Regions from separate parts of the Homo sapiens genome. Here regions 1 and 3 are each linked to region 2. Evidence: promoter capture Hi-C in 16 types of primary human blood cells and fetal thymus (Javierre and others, 2016). All regions are on one chromosome and are shown on one strand. The core of a region is centred on a gene start or on the middle of the fragment in contact, and the rest is flanking DNA. Distances in the headings are between cores, read along the strand shown. Region 1 has its middle 27 kb from the start of TMED10. Region 2 holds the start of LINC01220 (long intergenic non-protein coding RNA 1220). Region 3 has its middle 6.9 kb from the start of TMED10.

What was found. Contacts are between HindIII fragments. The CHiCAGO score rates a contact against its expected background, and 5 or more counts as called.
Region 1: a contact is called between a fragment that was not itself captured here and the fragment with the promoter of LINC01220 in region 2, in 6 of 17 cell types (total B cells, naive B cells, total CD8 T cells and 3 more). The highest score is 7.9, in total B cells.
Region 3: a contact is called between a fragment that was not itself captured here and the fragment with the promoter of LINC01220 in region 2, in 16 of 17 cell types (total B cells, naive B cells, monocytes and 13 more). The highest score is 20.8, in total B cells.

What each region holds. Positions count from the first base shown.
Region 1 is chr14:75,201,928-75,204,975 of GRCh38, reverse strand. It overlaps the pseudogene RNU4ATAC14P. Among named protein-coding and RNA genes, the nearest start is that of TMED10, 27 kb to the right of the region's middle. The HindIII fragment of the contact is 1,467 bases long and covers 903-2,369 here.
Region 2 is chr14:75,292,801-75,295,669 of GRCh38, reverse strand. It overlaps LINC01220 (long intergenic non-protein coding RNA 1220), which reads right to left and starts at 1,266. Exons shown (of 3, transcript NR_038421.1): 1 at 1,129-1,266; 2 at 933-993. RefSeq lists a silencer at 1,029-1,488 and an enhancer at 1,559-1,698. The HindIII fragment of the contact is 10,176 bases long and covers 957-2,869 here.
Region 3 is chr14:75,182,069-75,184,903 of GRCh38, reverse strand. No RefSeq gene overlaps it. Among named protein-coding and RNA genes, the nearest start is that of TMED10, 6.9 kb to the right of the region's middle. The HindIII fragment of the contact is 3,996 bases long and covers 1-2,835 here.

The DNA of each region.
Region 1 (3,048 bases), core at 387-2,886, 91 kb after region 2:
GGACATTCCTAAGCTAATGCTCCCCAACTGTGATACGTATACCTCTAGTGGCACACAGGAGGATTTTAGCACATGAGTGAACATTTACACAATTTCAATAAGTGTATATTTATTTTAATGTGTACTAGAAAAAAATTTATAGGTAGCATACCAGACCCGATTTCATGAATCAGCAACTTCAAGAATATGATTGTTTACAGCAAGGCTAGCATAGGTAGTGACTATGCCAGCGAAAATATGTTAATTAATGAAAAGTATAAAATAAATAGCAGATGGATAACATGAAGATTTGGCAAAAATCATGAGGATGGTATTCAAACAACTGAAGTTTGGCAAACCCTTTCCTAGTTATTCATTCTTATGAGTCCCCTCACTATAGGAATGGGGAGAAGCCAGTTGGCACCGTAAGTCCTATTCGCCCACCTGTACCACACTCCCACTCCCAAAGATCACCATTCCTTTTAAACTCCAGCAATTACTGAAAAGTCAATACTGTTCTTCAGTGTCCTAGAGAAAACTCCCAGAACCTGAGGTTTATCACATGCCAAGGCTGAATGAGCCCATCAGCAGGACCAAAGGGTGGAGTTGGGAGGAGAAACTGCAAAATGAGCCTGGCTCCAGGAACAGCATGTATTCAGTACAGAGCCATAAGTTCAGAAATACCAGACTTGGGTGTGTTTGTTATGGAGACTTACTATAGTGAAAGGAAAAGCTGACAAAGTCATCTCTCGAGTCCCTGTCAAAAGCCACAAGCCCCAGACACACTAACAAAATAAGGCGACGGTTAGGAGCCAACATACCTCTCTGTCCTTGTTTTCATTCCAAAGACCTCAGAAGAGATCTTGCAGATATATGACTCTAAATGTAATGAGTACAAATTGCAAGTACTCAAAAGCTAAGCTTTGATAATGCTTAACTGCAAGAGCAAAGAGATAAGATGAGACACTGGACTAGAGGACATTTAGAAAAAACGGTCTAATAGATCAATGGTTTCCAAATGCCCATCTACACAGACCAGTGTCTTCTATGGAGGATGGCTGTGTGTTTTAAAATTGTAGATTCCCAGTCACTTCCCAGAGAGGATTCTGGTGTAGGCTGGAGATGAACTCCTGGGGTCCCAACTGCCCCAGATGGCTCAATCGAGTTTACAAACTACTTTTTGAGCCCTTGTGCCTCATATCTGGTTACTTCGTTCCATTCTCCGCCAGCCCAGCCTGGTTCATTCCTTCCACAATGGTTGACATCTAATAGCTTTCTAACACATCTCCTGCCTCTCTCTGTCTCTGTCTCTCTCTCTCTCTTTCTTTCTTTTTTTTTTTTAGACGGAGTTTTGCTCTTGTCACCCAGACTGGAGTGCAATGACGTGGTCTCAGCTCACTGTGACTTCCACCTCCCAGGTTCAAGTGATTCTCCTGTCTCAGCTTCCCAAGTAGCTAGGACTGCAGGCACGTGCTACCAGGCCCAGCTAATTTTTGTATTTTTAGTAGAGACGGGGTTTCACCATGTTGGCCCAGCTGGTTTCGAACTCTTGACCTCAAGTGATCTGCCCCCCTCAGCCTCCCAAAATGCTGGGATTACAGGCATGAGCCACCACGGCTGGCCCTCTCTTTTTTTTTCTTTTTTTTTTTTGGCCGGGCGCGGTGGCTCACACCTGTAATCCCAGCACTTTGGGAGGCCAAGGCGGGCGGATCACGAGATCAGGAGATCGAGATCATCCTGGCTAACATGGTGAAACCCCGTCTCTACTAAAAATATGAAAAAATTAGCCGGGCGTGGTGGCGGGCACCTGTAGTCCCAGCTACTTGGGAGGCTGAGGCAGGAGAATGGTGTGAACCTGGGAGGTGGAGCTTGCAGTGAGCCGAGATCACGCCACTGCACTCCAGCCTGGGTGACAGAGCGAGACTCCGTCTCAAAAAAAAAAAAAAAAACTCCATTTAAAAAAGAAAAAAAAGAAAAACAAAGGAAAAAGAGAAAGCAATGTCCAGTGGCTACTAGAGCAGACATGTCTCGTCTGTCTGGCCAGCATCTGTTCCTTTGGAATTTGTCTCCTTTTCTCTGTTGTGCAGAATTCTGGAGGTCAGCCAATCCCAGGTCCCATGAAGGGGGCACATGACCTAAGCTAAGCCATTCAGACTCACCTGGGCATTTGAATTTTGAACAGAGATTCAGGGATGGGAAGTTTGAAGTTGAATCATGAGTTAATCCCCAGGAGATCCCCTCTTGCCTGGTCAGATTTTCCTTCAATTCTATAAACTCCCCAATATCCTTCCTTCAGATGGCTTTTTTTTTCCTGTTAACTCAGAATTCGTTCTTATCTCCTGAAACTGCAGAGCCCTGATATACTTCTCCATTGTCCATAGCATGAAGCTTACAAAGTTCTCACCCTATATTACAGATTCTCCCCATTCTGTTTATGTCTCACATGACGGCTCTGCCCTAACTAAGCTTTAAGCCCCTATGTGATCTTCTGTGAGCCAGCAATTAGACAGTCTGCATTTTATAAGCAAGGAGGATATATAACTCATGTCTATAAGGCCTTGAGGTCCTGTGCTAGATGGCATGCTATGTTTTGATCAGATTTAATTGAGAACTAGCTCTGATATTTTATTTATGTATTTATTTATTTATTGTAGAGATGCGTAGTCTTGCCATCTTGCCCAGGCTGGTCTTGAACTCCTGGGCTCAAGCAATCCTCCCACTTCAGCCTCCCAAAGTGCTGGGATTATAGGTGTGAGGCCCCATGCCTGGCCCTACATATTCTAAAATAAGAAAAGGTGTTCTGCTATTTAGAAATGACTGCCAAATCATCATTCTTTTCTTGGGTTTGTGCTACTGTCCAACGAGCGCATAGTGAGGGCAGTACTGCTAACACATACCAAAAAAAAAAAAGCAAAAATAAACATAAAAAACAGAAGTACTTTCCAGAGACTAGGATTACAGACAACCTGGATATAAACTAAGTTCTGGAGGTATTTTAAAAAGAGTATTCTAAAGAGTATATTCTAGGCCAGGCACGGTGGATCACACCTGTAATCCCAGCACTTTGGG
Region 2 (2,869 bases), core at 17-2,516:
TGTACAACCCACCAGCTGAGCCAGGCAACAGGGTTCTGAAGCACAGGAAATTAGAAGCACCTAGGCGATGTGGAACACTATTTGAAGCTAGATATCCTGACTTTTATCAGTTTCTAACTAGCTGTGCAAGTTTGGATGGTCGAACCAACTTCTCTGAGCTTTAATTTCCCTGTTGGCGAAATAGGTTAAATTAGATTAAAAGTCTCCGATGTGACTTCCAGCTCTGAAACTCTGGAAAACACACACTCCTTCAGCCAGAGGAACTGGGGAATCTAGGGGGCAGGGATGGGGGTGGGAGGATGGTGACAGGCGTCTTGAAGGATTAACCCCACGCTTCTCCTCGCAATTGCAATCGGCTCCCCAGCAGCGGCCACTGCGGCACTGCCTGCCCCACCCCCGCCCTCTGGGCCCGGCGGTACACACCCACGGCTCCCTCAGAGACTTCTGGAATCTCGCTGGATTTCTCCCAGGAATGCTTATTGCCCTTTAGATCTGCAAATCGCTTTACATCAGCAACCCTGCCGCGCGATTATTAATCATCTCAATATTCTCCCCCATCCCCTACCCTCCCCCTCGCCCGGCCTGGAAGAGGAATTGCAGGGGTCCGGATTTATGAAGGTGATTCGTATTATTCATTCAATAATCAGTTAACTAAAGTTCATTAAGCGCCTAATAGGAGCAAGGTGCAGAGACACACAAATCCAATCACCACAGGGGGCAGAACTGTAGGGGGTCGATGCTCAAAGAACTTCACTGATATTCCAGTTATGTCCTGGGGAGGGGGTGGTTAGAGGGTGATGGAAAAGCTCCCCTCACAAGCCTGATGACAGTGCTGCAACCATTATGGACCACCCCCACGGTTCGTTTTATCATGCCAGGAAAAGGAAAATGGCCTTCCCAAGGTCACTTATCCCCCGAGGGGCAACACTGACCCCAGAACCGCCGTCTTCAAAGCTTTCCACTGTGCCATGAAGGAAAATTTTGAGTTGAAGCCTATAAAATACAGCGTTGGGCGAGAGATGGCATGATTTCCGGGCACAGAGTGAGAAAATCGTGATCCCAGATCACCCACCCACAACAAACGAGACCGCCCCAAATCTTGACTGCAGCTACAACCAGCAGACGCACAGGAATGCTGGAAACAGCTCATTCATCCATCGCGGCGCCCTCTCTCTGGGCCCCCAGCGCCCCTGCCCTTGCCTCCGCCTGGGTGGGTCCCGGGACAGGAGGCGGGGGTCTCGTGGCTCGGAGCCTTCGCCCAGCATTCCAGGGGCGGGGCAGGGACCGGGGGCGGGGCGCGGCGGGAGTCCCGCCCACAGCCTACCCCGGGCCGGCGGCGCAGTGGCTGAGCCAAATATGGGCAGAGCGGAAGCGGCGGGCCGGCGTCACGGCGCCGGGTGGGGGCCGCGCTGCGGGGCGGTGACGGGAGTCGCTGACGGCGCCTACGTGTCACCGTGGAAACCAAACAGTAAACAGAGGACTCGCGAGCTCCTGGCACCGTCTGGCCCTGCGACCTGCCCTGGAGCAAAGGGCCGGAAGCTGGGAAGGGCCAGGAGAAACCTTGGCCTGGCCGACGAGGACAGGGGCGCGGCAAGGGTGTAGAGAGGGCGGTGGAGGGGACGCTGAGAGAGCACTCCCAAACGTCCCTCCCTGAGGTCCCTGGAAGCCGGCTCTCCCTCTGCCCACGGGCCAGCAGGGGCTGGTCAGGAGCGGAAGGAGGCCCTCCTGTCCCTTCTTTTTCTTTTCCTTTGTTTTTTTTTTTTTTTTTTTTTTTTTTTTTGAGATGGAGTCACGCTCTATCGCCCAGGCTGGAGTGCACTGGCGCGATCTCTGCTCACTGCAACCTCTGCCTCCCGGTTCAAGCGATTCTCCCGCCCCAGGCTCCCAAGTAGCTGGAACTACAGGCGCGCGCCACCGTACCCGGCTAATTTTTTACATTTTTAGTAGAGACAGGATTTCACCACGTTGGCCAGGTTGGTCTCCAACTCCTGACCTCAGGTGATCCGCCCGCCTCGGCCTCCCAAAGTGCTGGGATTACCGCGCCCGGCCTCTCCTGTCCCTTCTGAGGGCCTCCGTGCCTGCAAGGTTGTTGCGGATACTGATTTTGCTTTGTTTTTCCTTTCTAATGGCTAAGAGTTCAGGCATTGAAGCCACACTGCCTGGACTCTAATTCCAGCGCTGCCACTCCAGTTGGATGATCTTGAGCAGACCTCTGCGCCCCAGACTATATTATTATCTACAAAAATAAGGATAATAGCAGGACCTACCTTTAAGAGTAGATGAGGACTTTTAAAATGAGTGTGTGTGTGTGTGTGTGTGTGTGTGTGTGTGTGTGTGTTTGGAACAGTGTCAAGCATGTTGTGAGCCCCAAGTTAGTGTTAAGTGTTTATTTTTATTCCCAGGCAGCACAAGAGAAACTTACGTAGTATTAGTAGTGCATCTCCTAAATCTACTACTGACGTAATGTTTTTTTTCTCGAGTCTTCTTTAGATTTAAAATAAAAGGGGGCCGGGCGCTGTGGCCCACGCCTGTAATCCCAGCACTTTGGGAGGCCAAGGCAGGAGGATCACTTGAACCTAGGAGTTCTAGACCAGCCTGGGCAACATAAGGAGACCCCGACTCTACAAAAATAAAAAAAAATAGCTGGGCATGGTGGTGCACACCTGTGATCCCAGCTACTTGGGAGGCTGAGGTGGGAAGATCTTGGGCCAGGGCAGTCAAGGCTGCAGTGAGCCTTGATTGCAGTCACTGCACTCCAGCCTGAGTGACAGGGAGACCCTCTCTCAAAAATAAATAAGCAAAAGGAATTATCTATTTTAAAGATAATATTCAAATCTAGTAAAAATATTTAGTTATTAACTAAAATGTG
Region 3 (2,835 bases), core at 50-2,549, 110 kb after region 2:
TGCCTCAGCCTCCCAAAGTGCTGGGATTATAGGCATGAACTACCACACCCGACTGATAAAAATCTTGTTTTTTCAAGCAAAATGAGTTGGGAGAGGCTAGTGGATCTTTTACTAGCCTCTGAGTGAAAGTAGAGAAAGAGTGCCCAAGAATTTAAAACTTCTTAGTAGAGTGGAAACTAAATCGTAAATACCAAGTTTTATCAAATGTAATGACAAAAATTGGTCTGCAGTTAGGAGCTCTCATTTCTATTTTCAGCTCTAACACTGACTCATTGTATGACTTGAGGCAAGTCACTAAGCAGTTTCAGACCTCAGCTTCTCCATATAAAAAATGGCAATTAAAATGTTGTACCTACTACATAGAGGAACTAGCATTTATGGAGCAACTGCTCTATGTTCATCTCGTGCTAGGAGCTTTATAATATGTTGTATTTCATTTATTCGATAAGTATTTGTTGAGCACCAACTATGGACAGGATATTGTGCCTGATCTCAGGGAAAGATCAGGCAAAAATCAAAGCCCTTGCTCTTCTGAGCTTAAATTCCAGTAGGGTGGGGTGATAATAAACAAGAAAGATATATATATAAGATACTTTCAAACAGTGACAAGAGCCATGTAGATAATAAAACCAGGGCCGGGTGCAGTAGCTCACACCCATAATCCCAGCACCTTGGGAGGCAGAGGCTGGAGGATTGCTGGAGCTCAGGAGTCTGAGACAAGCCTGGGAAACAGAGTGAGACCTCATCTCTACTAAAAAAAAAAAATTAGCCAGGTGTGGTGGCGTGTGCCTGTAGTCCCCAGCACTGGGGAGGCTGAGGTGGGAGAATCGCTTGAGCCAGGGAGATGGAGGCAGCACTGAGCTATGATGGCGCCGCTGCACTCCAGCCTGGGTTACAGAGCAAGACCCTGTCCCTAAAAAAAAAAAAAAAAAAAAAAGAGCCGGGCGCGGTGGCTCACACCTGTAATTCCTGCACTTTGGGAGGCCAAGGCAGGCAGATCACTTGAGGTCAGGAGTTCAAGACCAGCTTGACCAACATGGTGAAACCCCATCTCTACTAAAAATACAAAAATTATCCAGGCACAGTGGCAAGTGCCTGTAGTCCCAGCTACTTGGGAGGCTGTGGCATGAGAATCGTTTGAACCCAGGAGGCGGAGGTTGCAGAGAGCCGAGATCATGCCACTGCACTCTAGCTTGGGCAACAGAGGGAGACCTCCATCTCAAAAAAAAGAAAAAAAAAGAGAGAAAAATAAAGATAATAAAACCAGATAATGTGGTAGAAAGTAACCCAAGGGGGGGGATACTTATGTGGGGTGGTGACATTCAGTTGGGACCCAAATGATGAGAAGCAGTCAGCAGAGTATATGAGACAACAGCTGAGGAGAGCTCCAGGTAGGCAGCAAGGTCCAAGGCTCTGATGCAGGTAGGGGCTTAAACTGTTTGGAAGGCCAGGTAAGACATTAATGGGTAGGATAATCACAGAGAGGCAGGCATGAGCCAGAACACAGTGGCCTCAGCCTTCAGGCTGTGGCTGGGTGTTTGGATTTTAATCTAGTTGATCTGCTTTACTTAAAAAAAAAAAAAAATCAGAGAAAAAAAGAAAAAAAAATCATTCTGGGTATGTTAATGAGTACGATTATTGTCAGGCAATAATAAAAGCAGAGATAACCATTAAGGAGGCTGTTGTCTTGTTTGCTTAACTGACAGAAATAAATTTTTCTGTAAAAGGTCAGATAGCAAATATTTCAGGCTTGCAGGTCACTTGAGCTCTCTATTGCACATTCTTCTCTTCTTTCTCCTCCTCCTTTTTTTTTTTTAACAGCCCTCAAAAAATGTAAAAGCCATTCTTAGCTCTTGCACAATAGAAAAACAGGAGGTTGCATGCCAGATTTGGCCTGCCTAGCTAGGCAGCAGTTTATGGACCCCTAGCTTATAGAGAAGTAGAAACTGACCAGCATACATTTTAGGACCCAATCCAGAACTGACGGGACTTGATGAACTGACTCTGTCTGGGGAGAAGGTTAGTTAAAGAGGAAACAAGAATGGTGTCATTGACTAGGCAGAAGGTGGTGCCATTTACTGAGATGCGGAAGAAGTAGATTTGGGAGCGGGGTGGGGGAAGAGGGGAGAAGGGAAATCAAGAGTTAAGTATGAATTGCCTATTAGTCCTTCAAGTGGAGATGTCAAGTAGGGAGCTCGATATAGACTCTGGAGCTTATGAGAGAGGTCAGGAGATCCATGTTTGGGAATTATCAGTCTACAGACACATTTAAAGTCATGGGATTGGGCTGGGGATGGTGGCTCATGCCTGTAATCCTAGCACTTTAGGAGGCCAAGAAGGGTGGATCACCTGAGGTCAGGAGTTCGAGACCAGCCTGACCAATATGGTGAAACACCATCTCTACTAAAAATACAAAAATTAGCTGGGCTTGGTGTCGTGCTCCTGCAGTCCCAAGTCCCAGTTACTCGGGAGGCTGAGACAGGAGAATTGCTTGAATCTGAGAGGCAAAGGTTGCAACGAGCCGAGATTGCGCCACTGCACTACAGCCTGGAGGACAGAGCACGATTCCATCTCAGAAAAAATAAAAAATCTAAGGCTGGGCGCGGTGGCTCACACCTGTGATCCCTGCACTTTGGGAGGCCGAGGTGGGCAGATCACCTGAGGTCAGGAATTCGAGACCAGCCTGACCAACATGGAGTAACCCTGTCTCCACTAGAAATACACAATTAGCCAGATGTGGTGGTGCATGCCTGTAATCCCAGCTACTCGGGAGGCTAAGACAGGAAAATCACTTGAACCCTGGAGGCGGAGGTTGCAGTGAGCTGAGATTGCACC